2 separate regions of the Homo sapiens genome follow, and region 1 is linked to region 2. The links are contacts of gene promoters, found by promoter capture Hi-C in blood cells and fetal thymus (Javierre and others, 2016). All regions are on one chromosome and are shown on one strand. Each heading gives the region's core, a stretch centred on a gene start or on the middle of the fragment in contact. The rest is flanking DNA. Distances are from core to core; before and after follow the strand shown.

Region 1 (5,363 bases), core at 1-2,500, 1.9 Mb before region 2:
TTCTTGGCCCCGCCCTCTTCACGGTCTTTACACTCCCCTATGAAAGAACACCCAATCACCGCCTCGAATTGCGTTGTTATAGAAACTTTTGTTACCGCCCCTTTTTCTCCCAGCAAGCTGTGCGACGCGCCGGGCCTCCTCGCCTTTGTGCCATCCGGGTCTCTCGCGCGAGCGATTTAGTCTGAGGCGAAGCTTCGGAGCGGCCGGTACTGTTGAAAGCGACAAGTGGAGGCGCCGCTCTAGCGGCCGGGACTCTGAACTATGGCGGTAGGTACCGAATCTGAGTTTAAAGCCAGGGATATTTTTCTGCTACGTTCCAACAGTGGGTGAACGGCTCCCAGAACCTTGTTCGTGTGTATGTGTGTAGACAAAATGGCGCCGCGGCCTTCTTCTGCGCCCGCCATCATGGCTGCCTGCTGTAGGGAGGGGGAAGTAAGGCGGTGTTGGTGGGGGTGGGGAGCCGCAGGGAGTGCCTTTTTTTTTCCAGAACTTTCCTCCTCTCTTCCCCAACCCTACGTTCCTTTCGCCTCACTGAACTTCCTCCATTTTCGCTTATTCACCCTGGCTAGTGATTTATTCTAAGTTTTTTTTAGGGCCTGAGAATTTGCGGTGGAGAAAGGGGCTGGGGAAGAGAAAGACGATCAGGAGTGGTCTCTGAAAAGTATTGGGTCAAAAAGGCAGTGTCTGTAAAGGGTAGTGTGGGAGAAGAGAGCGACTTGTAGCTATTTTTTTTTTTGTACGCTCAATGAGATGCTTCTAGTTGCATAATTTCAATTAGTGTTCGTCCGTGTAAACCTTATTATTGTGTATTAACGAGCTAGGAAGGTATTGCTGAAAGGGAGTGAAAATTCAACTTAAAAGGTTGTGGAACTACCAATTCTGACTGATGCGCGGTTTCCGAAGTGGCCCGTGATGTAATCAATTTGAAGTCCGAGAAGCGTTACAGTTAAGTCTTGTCACTGACCTTGTTCCTTTAAATTTAAACCCTTCGTTGGCCGGGCGCGGTGGCTCACGCCTGTAATCCCAGCACTTTGGGAGGCCGAGGCGGGCGGATCACGAGGTCAGGAGATCGAGACCATCCCGGCTAAAACGGTGAAACCCTGTCTCTACTAAAAATACAAAAAAATTAGCCGGGCGTAGTGGCGGACGCCTGTAGTCCCAGCTACTTGGGAGGCTGAGGCAGGAGAATGGCGTGAACCCGGGAGGCGGAGCTTGCAGTGAACCGAGATCCCGCCACTGCACTCCAGCCTGGGTGACAGAGCGAGACTCCGTCTCAAAAAAAAAAAAAAAAAAAAAAAAAAAAAAAAAAAAAACTCTTCGTTGACCCCAGAGGAGCTACAGTTCGTAAATTATCTATTCTGAACAATAAGCCTGCGTGTGTATAAGATACCCAATTCTGACGGATCCACATTATTTTGTGCTTACCTCATTTTTATTCCGTTAAAAGGAAAATGTAAAGATTTTGCATTCCTTTTTACTGACTAAAAAATTACATCATTTTCGATAATAATTATGACTCTTAAACATAGTGATAGTTTTAAAGTTTGCTCTTCCTAACGATTGGAATGCCTGGGATTAGGCAGATGATTTTCTTTTTCCCCCATACCCCTCTATTATTTAGGTGATTGAGTTTAAACCCGTTTCTTTTACTGTCTTCCTTTGTTTAGTGTTTTGGGCCTCAGTATACTTAAAGAGTAATACTATTTTTCTTGGGTTGCAGGTTTTTTTGTATTTTTTCGAGACGGAGTTTTGCTCTTGTCGCCCAGGCTGGAGTGCGATGGCGCGATCTTGGCTCACTGCAACCTCCGCCTCCCGGGTTCAAGCGATTCTCCTGCCTCAGACTCCCGAGTAGCTGGGATTACAGGCGCCCACCACCACACCCGGCTAATTTTTTTATATTTTTGGTAGAGACGGGGTTTCACCACGTCGGCCAGGCTGGTCTCGAACTCCTGACCTCAGATGATCCACCCGCCTCGGCCTCCCAAAGTGCTGGGATTACAGGAGTGAGCCACCGCGCCCGGCCGGGTTCTAGTATTTTAAAAAGTGAATTTAAACATTTATTTATGCCGTGCCTTGTTCAATAAAAAGACAGTCCCCTAGAGAAGTGACCTAGTATTCAATCCAGTGCTTACCTCCTTCGCAGTGGAAAAAGATTTGTCTATGTTTCGAGCCGTTATTAGAGTTTGCAACAAAATGTAAATTATAAGAAACCAAAGTGGCTACCTCGTAGAGCCACTGCTGGAATAGAAGGCTGTTTTGCAGTTAACGTTTATGTGTACACATAGATTAGTACTAAATTAAAGCTTAGAAAATTTCAGAGCAATTTTAATACTCAGTTTTTGGTAGGTTTTTTTCCTGGATACCTGTATTATGCTACTATAAAATATCCTCAGGGAAATAAAAGTTTTCCATGGCCTCAATGACCACCTATCATTCCTATTTGTTTAGTGTTAAGATGGTTTTTGTTGTTGCTCTGTAGTATATTTTACAGATGAAAATGGTTGATGATGTAAGTTTAAGTTAGCCTATGTCACAGGGAGGTTTCTCTGTTGTCCAGCTTTGTGATGTTAAGCATGAAGTTAAAGTTAGATAAACCATTGCCTGAAAACTGCCTAGGCTAAGCACTAGATTTTCCATGAGAAGGTTGTTTTCGATTCTAGTCTTGTTCTCTGCAAAAGTAAATGGGATTTGCCACTAGTTAAGGAATTCTGTCTCTGGCAAAAGTGTCGTGCAACTGAGAGAAGTAATAGCGGTGCTTAAAATTTTCGAGATCACTTCTGTTTACCAAGTGTAAGCTGTACAAACACTCAGCAAGTAATAAATGAGTCTGAAATAGTCCTCAAGGATAACGATGAAAAAAAAAAGTGTCCAGAATTCATTGTGAAAAATCAGAATCATCCTTAATGATACAGCATTATTTATTAGTAGTAAACAGTAAAGATACGGAGATGCAGTATCATTTTAAGCAAGTCAGCTAATGTTGCTGGATCTCATCTGTGAAACGAGAAAGTTGAACTCTATTCTAAGGGGTGAAAACCTTTCAGCATAAAAATTTTATGGTTCCAGAAGTCACCCAGACTGGAGAAATAAGTACATATACAATATGCTGGCATGAGAGCCTCCCTGGTAGTTAATTTCTTACTGTTCTTTTTGTGCCATTGTTAGAGGAATAACACGTAATTTATGTCTTTCATCTCATAATTGAACTGCAAAACCTTTCTGTTTTTAATTTATCATTTTATTCCCTAAGTCTAGCATTGGTTTTGGCACATTTTTGACCCTTAGTAAATACTTGTTGAAGTAACTCGACCTCTCACAACTTCATTTATTAAAGTACAATACACCCATTTATTGTACTTGATACTTGTTTAAAATTTGTTAAAATACAATACCCCCATTTATTGTACTTGATATTTGGTATTCATTTTCTGGACTAACTTTCCTAAAGGAGGAAGTTCTCTAATGTGATTCCTCCTGCTGAAGACTATCGATTCCCTATTTATTCAATCCAGATTCCGTTTGATGTTATACGTGAAAAGTCCATAAACTGTTTCTGTAAAGGGCCAGACGGTAAATATTTTTGGCTTTGTGGGCCATGTGCAGTCTCTGTCACATTCTTTCCCAGGCTGGAGGGGCAGTGGCGCAATCTTAGCTCACTTCAACGTCTGCCTCATGGGTTCAAGCCATTCTCCTGTCTCAACCTCCTGAGTTGCTGGGATTACAGGCACGCCCCACCACTCTTGGCTAATTTTTGTGTTTTTAGTAGAAGCAGGGTTTTACCATGTTGGCTAGGCTGGTCTCAAACTCCTGACCTCAGGTTATCCGCCTGCCTCAACCTCCCAAAGTGCTAGGATTACAGGCATGAGCCACAACACTGGCGTTTTAAGTGCCTTTAGTTTTAACAGTTCAGTCTTTACAGTGCTATTTACTGAAGTTATTTATTAAATATGCCTAAAATAGTTTTAAAAAACGTAAAAAACCATTCCTAGCTCAAGGCCATACAGAAACAGAATGAGGACCATAGCTTGCCAACCCTTCCTAAGTAATCAATTCCCCAGGTGTATCAATTATTTTATTTTCATGTTATCTTCTCTGGTCAGATAGCCGAGCATTGTCTACCTTCTGCATTAGTTGAAACTTGTAAAATTTATATTGTAATAATTACTTATAAAATGCTTTAAAGCAGAAACAACTTAATGTTTTCATAGCCCAGAGCACATGTGAGGAGAGGCAGACCATATTTTGCAGCAGCACTGTGCCAAGGGGCTGTTTTCATTAAAGAGGGTTAATGACATTAAGATGAGGTTCTCACTTAGGTAAGTTAATTTTCTGTTTATTATTTTATAATATTCTTAGGGCATTGTTTTAAGATTTTATCGTCTTGAGTATCTTTAAGCTTTAACAACTCATTTTTGATGTTTGACATGTATGCTAATTTAAAAGTATTGGTAAAGTCAGCTAAATGCATTCACACATCTAAAAAGGACTATTTTCTCTGCTTGAATGCTTATTAGAACTACTTGGAGCCCTTATTCCTCCCCCACCCCACCCCATGTTTTAAAAGTTATACAAATCATCGTTAGAAAATTAAAGATACATCAGTCTAAATATGTAGGTCTTGCTTTAGTATCAGGTTCGTCATTTCAAGCCATTCAGCCTTATTAGTGTACAAAGCACATTTAGTTACTTGGAAAGCAGGCATTCTGATTTATTGATTGTGGGGGGCTATCTTCCCTCCCTTTGTCCCTCTTTTAAGAAATTGAAAACATTTAAAATGTAATTAAGAACTTTAATCATTTGTTTTTAAACTTTTAGGCTAGTGATACAGAGCGAGATGGACTAGCCCCAGAAAAGACATCACCAGATAGAGATAAGAAAAAAGAGCAGTCAGAAGTATCTGTTTCTCCTAGAGCTTCAAAACATCATTATTCAAGATCACGATCAAGGTCAAGAGAAAGAAAACGAAAGTCAGGTATGAATTCTTAAAGGTGGTTACAACTCTCAGCATTTGTATAAGATATGTAGACCTGTTGTATAAGAAGACACATACATTTAGTTTGTTGGCTGGGCATGGTGGCTCAAGCCTGTAATGCCAGCACTTTGGGAGGCCAAGGCAGGCAGATCACCTGAGCCAGGACCAAAAATACAAAAATTGACACACTCTCAGCCCAATGCAACCTCCATCTGCTGGGTTCAGGCAGTTCTTCTGCCTCAGCCTCCTGAGTAGCTGGGATTATAGGCGTGCGCCACCACGCCTAGCTTATTTTTGTATTTTTAGTAGAGACTGGGTTTCACCATGTTGGAACATATCAAATATAATTCAACCTGTTTATTTTCTTTAGTTTTTATTTTTCTTAATGGCT
Region 2 (6,159 bases), core at 496-2,995:
GCTAAAAAACAGTATTGTCGCTGAAGAGCTGACATGAAAATATAGCCAAATGGCCAGGCGTGGTAGCTCACGCCTGTAATCCCAGCACTTTGGGAGGCCGAGGTGGGTGGATCACCTGAGGTCAGGAGTTCAAGACCAGCCTGGCCAACATGGGGAAACCCTGTCCCTACTAAAAATACAAAAATTAGCCAGTTGTGGTGGCACACACCTGTAGTCCCAGCTACTTGGGAGGCTGAGGCAGGAGAATCGCCTGAATCCAGGAGGCAGAGGTTGCAGTGAGCTGAGATCGTGCTCCAGCTTGGGCAACAGAGTGAGACTCCGTCTCAAAAAACTAAATAAATAAATACAAAAATTAGCTGGTCGTGGTGGCAGGTGCCTGTAATCCCAGCTACTCGGGAGGCTGAGGCAGGAGAATCGCTTGAACTCAGGAGGCAGAGGTTGCAGCCAGCCTCCTGGCTGCATTTATATAAAGTTTAAGAACAGGCAAAATTAATCTAGCAGGGTAGAAGTGGTAATAGTGGCTGATAGCAGTAAGCAATTTGACTGGAAGAGGGCTCAGGGAACCTTCTGGGATACTGGAAATGCTCTTTATTTTAATCTTGGAGGTGGTTATAGAAGTCTATCCATATGTAAAAATTCATTGAGATGAATACACTTAAGAATATGTACTTTATGTAATACCCCATAAGACATTTTTTTTAAAATACTTAAAAATAAAAGAAAAAACATAATTTAACAGAGGGCATAGTTCTCAAGCTGTTTTCTCTGTCTCAGGACCCCTTTACACACGTTACTGAGGGTGCCCAAGAGCTTTTAGTTTTGTGGGTTATATTTACTATGGACATTAAAGTTGAGAAACGTTTAAAAAACAATACACAATTCCTAGAGCAGTGACGTCATCACGTCAAGCAGCCTCTGGAAAACTTGACTGTTCACTCAGAGAGAATGAAAAAGACAAGTAACATCTTAGCATTATTATGAAAGTAATTTTGACTTCGGGGACTCCCAAATCGAGTGAATTTAGGAAATCTCAGTGGTCCCCAGACGGCACTTTGAGAACCACTGGCGCAGGGAGAAAATGACAGAAGAAAACACACTACACGACAACAGTTATTCTCTCTCAGTGCTGGGATTATAATTTATTTGCTTCTTTGTGCTTTTCTGTCAAAAAAAAAAGGTAAACGGAAATGGAAAATACAATGACCACGTATTGTTTCTGCGAGCAAAAAACGAGACGGCACACTCGCCTCCCTAAGATTGCTGAAAGGCCCAAACAGCAATAGCATATTTAGCTGTATGGAAGAATTAAACTGAGCTCAAACCTGAAAATAAAAGTCCGATTTCCCGTTTGTCAATGCCTGGGCTGTGAGGTGCAGGGTCTTGCCCTCAAAAGCTCCACCGTTCACCTTGGGGAGAGAATATACTCGCATACATAACTGTGGTGCAAGGTTCCCAGGGCCCCAAGGGTAGCGGCTACATCCTACACACTATTGTAAACTTCAGTGTGCAACAGAACCATCCATTACAGCTGCAAGGCGCTCCATCCCGGGGTTCAGCCCTCAAACTAGTCAGTGACCCTCCGCAGGACGCATGCGCGCTTACAAACGCAGTTGGGCGGGGCTTGAGAGAGCTGACAGACTTCGGCCTCTCAACTTTCTAGCTCCGCCCTAATATCCTGTCTCCTTCTCTGAATGGCTGAAAGGCTGCGGAAGCAAGCTTCCCATTGGCAGCGGACAGAATTCACATCCGGTTTGCACGCCGGACCGGAGAGCGCGGAGGCAGCCATGGTGCGGTTCAAGCACAGGTAAGCATTCCCTTCCAGACCCTCCCAGTGCCTTGCTGGGTCCTCGCGGCCCCGCTAGTGTCCACCTTCCTCTCGCCTGCCGCAGGTACCTGCTCTGCGAACTGGTGTCTGACGACCCCCGCTGCCGCCTAAGCCTCGATGACCGAGTTCTGAGCAGCCTCGTACGGGACACGATCGCCAGGGTGCACGGAACTTTCGGCGCAGCCGCCTGCTCCATCGGCTTCGCGGGTGCAAGGGCGCTGGGGGAAGAGGGGAACCCGGGAGGATGGCGGGATGTGGAGGGGGCAGGCGCCGGAGGAAGAAAGAAGGGGCACGAGTGGCCAAGCCCGTGCACCGTTTTTTGTAAGGTATCTCTTTAAGCGCCTGGGACCCCAAGCGAGAGTCCGAAATTAGCAGAGCGCTAAAAGGAGGGGCCCGAAGGCAGTGGGGCTTTGAGCTAGAAGCCTCTTTTTACCTGCTTGACAGGTAATTTCTGTAATTGGTTGTGATTGAATTTGATAGGGTAGAGAATTAAATGAGGGAAGCTGTGTATACTTCCTAGTAAGAGCTATTATATGACCGATTACATTAACATCATATGGAAAAAAATTGTCAAAAGTACTCCGGGAAAGCCCTTAAATAGTTGGTAAAGTACAGAACACATGATTGTCAATATATGTAAATACAGGATGAGCTAGGACAGAGGGGCCCTTCTTTCACACCACTTAAATTAGTTCCCACTTTAACCTTGTTTGAGATTGACTTCTGGAGAGTTAAATGCAGATAGACTTAACTCTCCTAAGTCAGGTGAGACTGAGAGCTGACTGCTACAATAATTACGGAGCCCAAATGCAGTAAAACAGCCTGTTTTTCAGGCAAGGGTTTTGTGGGGGTTTTTCCTAAATTAAAACGGATCGCCTCCTACCTGCTCCTATTTATTGAATTAACTAGTGAATTAGAAAGCATTTTCAATTCTAAATTCATTCACCAGTTCTGAGTGGTGTGCAACACAGTGGGTGTTTTGGCTTTTCTCTTTTACTCGCTGATAGATCTACGTGCCACTTGCCTACAACATACTTTTGGCACATAGTAGGCTCTGTTACTCCAAAGTTTTCCTTTTTTCGAGACAGTCTGGCTGTTGCCCAGGCTGCTGGAGTGCAGCAGCGAGATCGGGGGTCATTGCTGCCTCTGCCTCCTGGGTTCAGGCGATTCTCATGCCTCAGCCTCCTGAGTGGCTGGAATTACAGGTGCGCACCACCACACCCAGCTAATTTTTGTATTTTTAGTAGAGACGGGGTTTCATCATGTTGGCCAGGCTGGCCTCGAACTCCTGACTTAAAGTGATCTGCCCGCCTCAGCCTCCCAAAGTGCTGGGATTACAGGCGTGAGCCACCACACAGAGCAAAAGTTTTCCAAAATGATTTTTCTTTCCTGTTGTAGTTCGATATCTCAATGCCTATACTGGAATAGTGCTACTTCGATGCAGAAAAGAATTCTATCAGCTTGTGTGGTCAGCTCTTCCCTTCATCACATACTTGGAGAACAAAGGACACCGTTACCCATGCTTTTTCAACACATTACATGTGGGAGGTAGGAGTGAGGTGGTATGGCTACTGATTTTCAATTGGTGACACGTTCACAGTTCAGTCTAAACTGGTGGGTGGGTCTTGCTGCTGTCCCGCTAACAAGACACTTCCCCCTACCTCTGAAAGTCTGTAAGGTCGAGATCTTTCACAAGCTGTTGACCACAGTAACTCATATGCCAGGTACAATAAGAACATGTCAGAAGTTCCTAATTCAGTACAACAGGAGACAGCTGTTGATCTTGTTGCAGAACTGCACTGATGAAGGTAAGCAACACTAGCCCAGTGCCCACTGAGCAGTGACTGACCTTAAGCTGAAGAAATCACTCCCAAAGATATCTTTCATCCCTGTTATCTGCCTTCTCCAGGAGAGCGGGAAGCTATCCAGAAGTCTGTGACAAGAAGCTGCTTATTAGAGGAGGAGGAGGAGTCAGGTGAGGAGGCTGCAGAAGCAATGGAGTGAACCTCTGCTCCCCACACAGCTGGCTACACTGCTCAGGCTTCAGGCCCACTTGTTGAACAGAACAATCTGGGTAGCAACAGCATCTTCCACAGTTTTCCAAACTGGATAGCTGCCAACCAGCAGACATTACCCACTTGAAATGGAGTACTCAGTTAAACTGAAGTTGCCTTTACCTAGCATTCCCTGGTGAAGTGTTGCAGGTTGTGAACTCTGTAGACATCTTTATTGCTTGGCTAAGAGTAGATTTAATAAATGTATCTGGTTTCCGTGGCATTTAGCATACTTATATTACAGAAAGGGCTTATGGAGTCCATGCTTGGCCAAGTCTCTGTTCTCTCTCTATCCCTAGCCTTGGTGGGAAGACTGACTCCCTATGTGGTACTAGTTAAACTTTTTTTTTTGAGACAGTCTCAGTCTATCACCCAGGCTGGAGTGTAGTGGCCCAGTATCGGCTCACTGCAACCTCCGCCTCCTGGGTTCAAGCAATTCTCCCACCTCAGCCTTCCAAGTAACTGGGATTACAGACGTGCACCACCACGTCTGGCTAATTTTTGTATTTTTAGTAGAGACGGGGTTTTGCCATGTTGGCCAGGCTGCTGTTGAACTCCTGGCCTCAAGTGATCGGCCTACCTTGGCCTCCAAAAGTGCTGGGATTAAAGGGTGAGCCACTGTGCCTGGCCTAAATTTTCAATACTTAGCCTTCTACCTGAAGCTTTGTACCCCCGGCCCCATGATGGGCCCTAAGCAAGCCAAGTCATTTGGAATAGAAATATTAGTTGAGACACAGCAACTGAACTGGCAGAGATCTACAGCCCATCTCAGTACTGAACCACAGGGTCTTACAGATACCAGATTCCTTGCCAATAGTTAATCAGGTAACTTAAAAAATACAACTTTGGGCCGGGCGCAGTGGCTCACACCTGTAATCCCAGCACTTTGGGAGGCTGAGGCGGCCAGATCACAAGGTCAGGAGATCAAGACCATCCCGTCTAACGCAGTGAAACCCTGTCTCCACTAAAAATACAAAAAATTAGCTGGGCATGGTGGTGGGTGCCTGTAATCTCAGGTACTCAGGAGGCTGAGGCAGGAGAATGGCGTGAACCCGGGAGGCAGAGCTTGCAGTGAGCTGAGATCCCACTACTGTACTGCAGCCTGGGCTAGAGCGAGACTCTGTCTCAAACAAAAAATGCAACCTTTGCAGTTGGGGGGGGCGCGGGTGCTGGCCTCATCTGACATCATTACTGCATGGTCATGTAGCAGCTGTCCACTTAAGGAACTTAAGGTAGTTTTTGTAGTTCCGCTCTTATTGCGCCTGAATACAAGGCGCCCTGAAGACAAGTCAGACTGCCATACTCACAGGAAGTAGGAATGGCGGGAGACTTGTGATCCAGGTTTGATCTGCTACCTACTGACATTTCTGGGATCTGTTTTCTCCATAATACAATGGATGAGACTGAAAGTACCATACACATTTAACAGAAACACTGGTGATTCTGGCTTCAACATGCCCCCTCATCTGGAGGCCAGAACACCCTCATCCATCCAGGAAATTTCCTGATAGGATTTCTTTTAAAATGGCAGGTTAAAGCTAAGCCCAGCTCTAGAACCATTTAAACCTGACACCAGAAAAGACAGCCTACAATATCATAGTAGCTGTCACGTTAACCTATTCAAGAAATAACTTGTCTAGCTTACCTGTAATGAACTTAAAAAAACAAAAAGCTCACAATGCTTGTGCAGGTGATTTATTGCAACTATTTGCCTTCGCATTCTAATGCACCTAGAGGTCACTTTATTAAGCAGCAAAAGAATTCACATCAAATTCAGCTCAAACCAAGGCATAAGAAAACTGCTCTAGATGAGAGGGAGATGGTGGCAATGCTACCGCTTCAGATGGCCCTGCTCTCCTGCAGCTGTACCAGACTCCTCCTCCTATGACTCAAGCCAGTCACTGAAAACAAGCTCGATCTTAGGGGTAGCAGGTCTCAGGGCTTCGTGAGTTACAGCTTTCCTTACCAACTCAAGCCATGCTCAAGAAGAGGCAAAACCCTCCTTTCACACATGCAAGTGCCAAGGACAGCCTACTCCATTAAGCTGGCACCACAGCCTGGCCATGTGTCAGAAAAAAAAAAACTGCAATTCAAACTGGGTGTCCTAAATCCATTTTATTCCCACCCCTGTTTCTTTAACAAGGAGAACTAAATAGGTAGTAAAGATTCAGCTGTTTTTTAAAAGACAAACTGAGAGGTGTACTGAGTCCAGGAAGCCCTGACATGATGCTACAGCAGAGCAGTGTGTGCCATTCTGGGTTGGACTGCTCTAATGCATCT

The links. Contacts are between HindIII fragments. The CHiCAGO score rates a contact against its expected background, and 5 or more counts as called.
Region 1: a contact is called between a fragment that was not itself captured here and the fragment with the promoter of POP5 in region 2, in 1 of 17 cell types (fetal thymus). The highest score is 5.4, in fetal thymus.

The regions. Positions count from the first base shown.
Region 1 is chr12:122,521,752-122,527,114 of GRCh38, reverse strand. RSRC2 (arginine and serine rich coiled-coil 2) reads left to right here and starts at 179. Exons shown (of 10, transcript NM_023012.6): 1 at 179-267; 2 at 4,816-4,972. The coding sequence starts at 262. RefSeq lists an enhancer at 40-499. The HindIII fragment of the contact is 2,111 bases long and covers 195-2,305 here.
Region 2 is chr12:120,576,988-120,583,146 of GRCh38, reverse strand. It overlaps POP5 (POP5 ribonuclease P/MRP subunit), which reads left to right and starts at 1,745. Exons shown (of 5, transcript NM_015918.4): 1 at 1,745-1,804; 2 at 1,890-2,032; 3 at 3,224-3,373; 4 at 3,550-3,633; 5 at 3,735-4,383. The coding sequence starts at 1,785. The coding sequence ends at 3,829. It overlaps RNF10 (ring finger protein 10), which reads right to left. Exons shown (of 17, transcript NM_014868.5): 17 at 5,559-6,159. The HindIII fragment of the contact is 2,825 bases long and covers 1,719-4,543 here.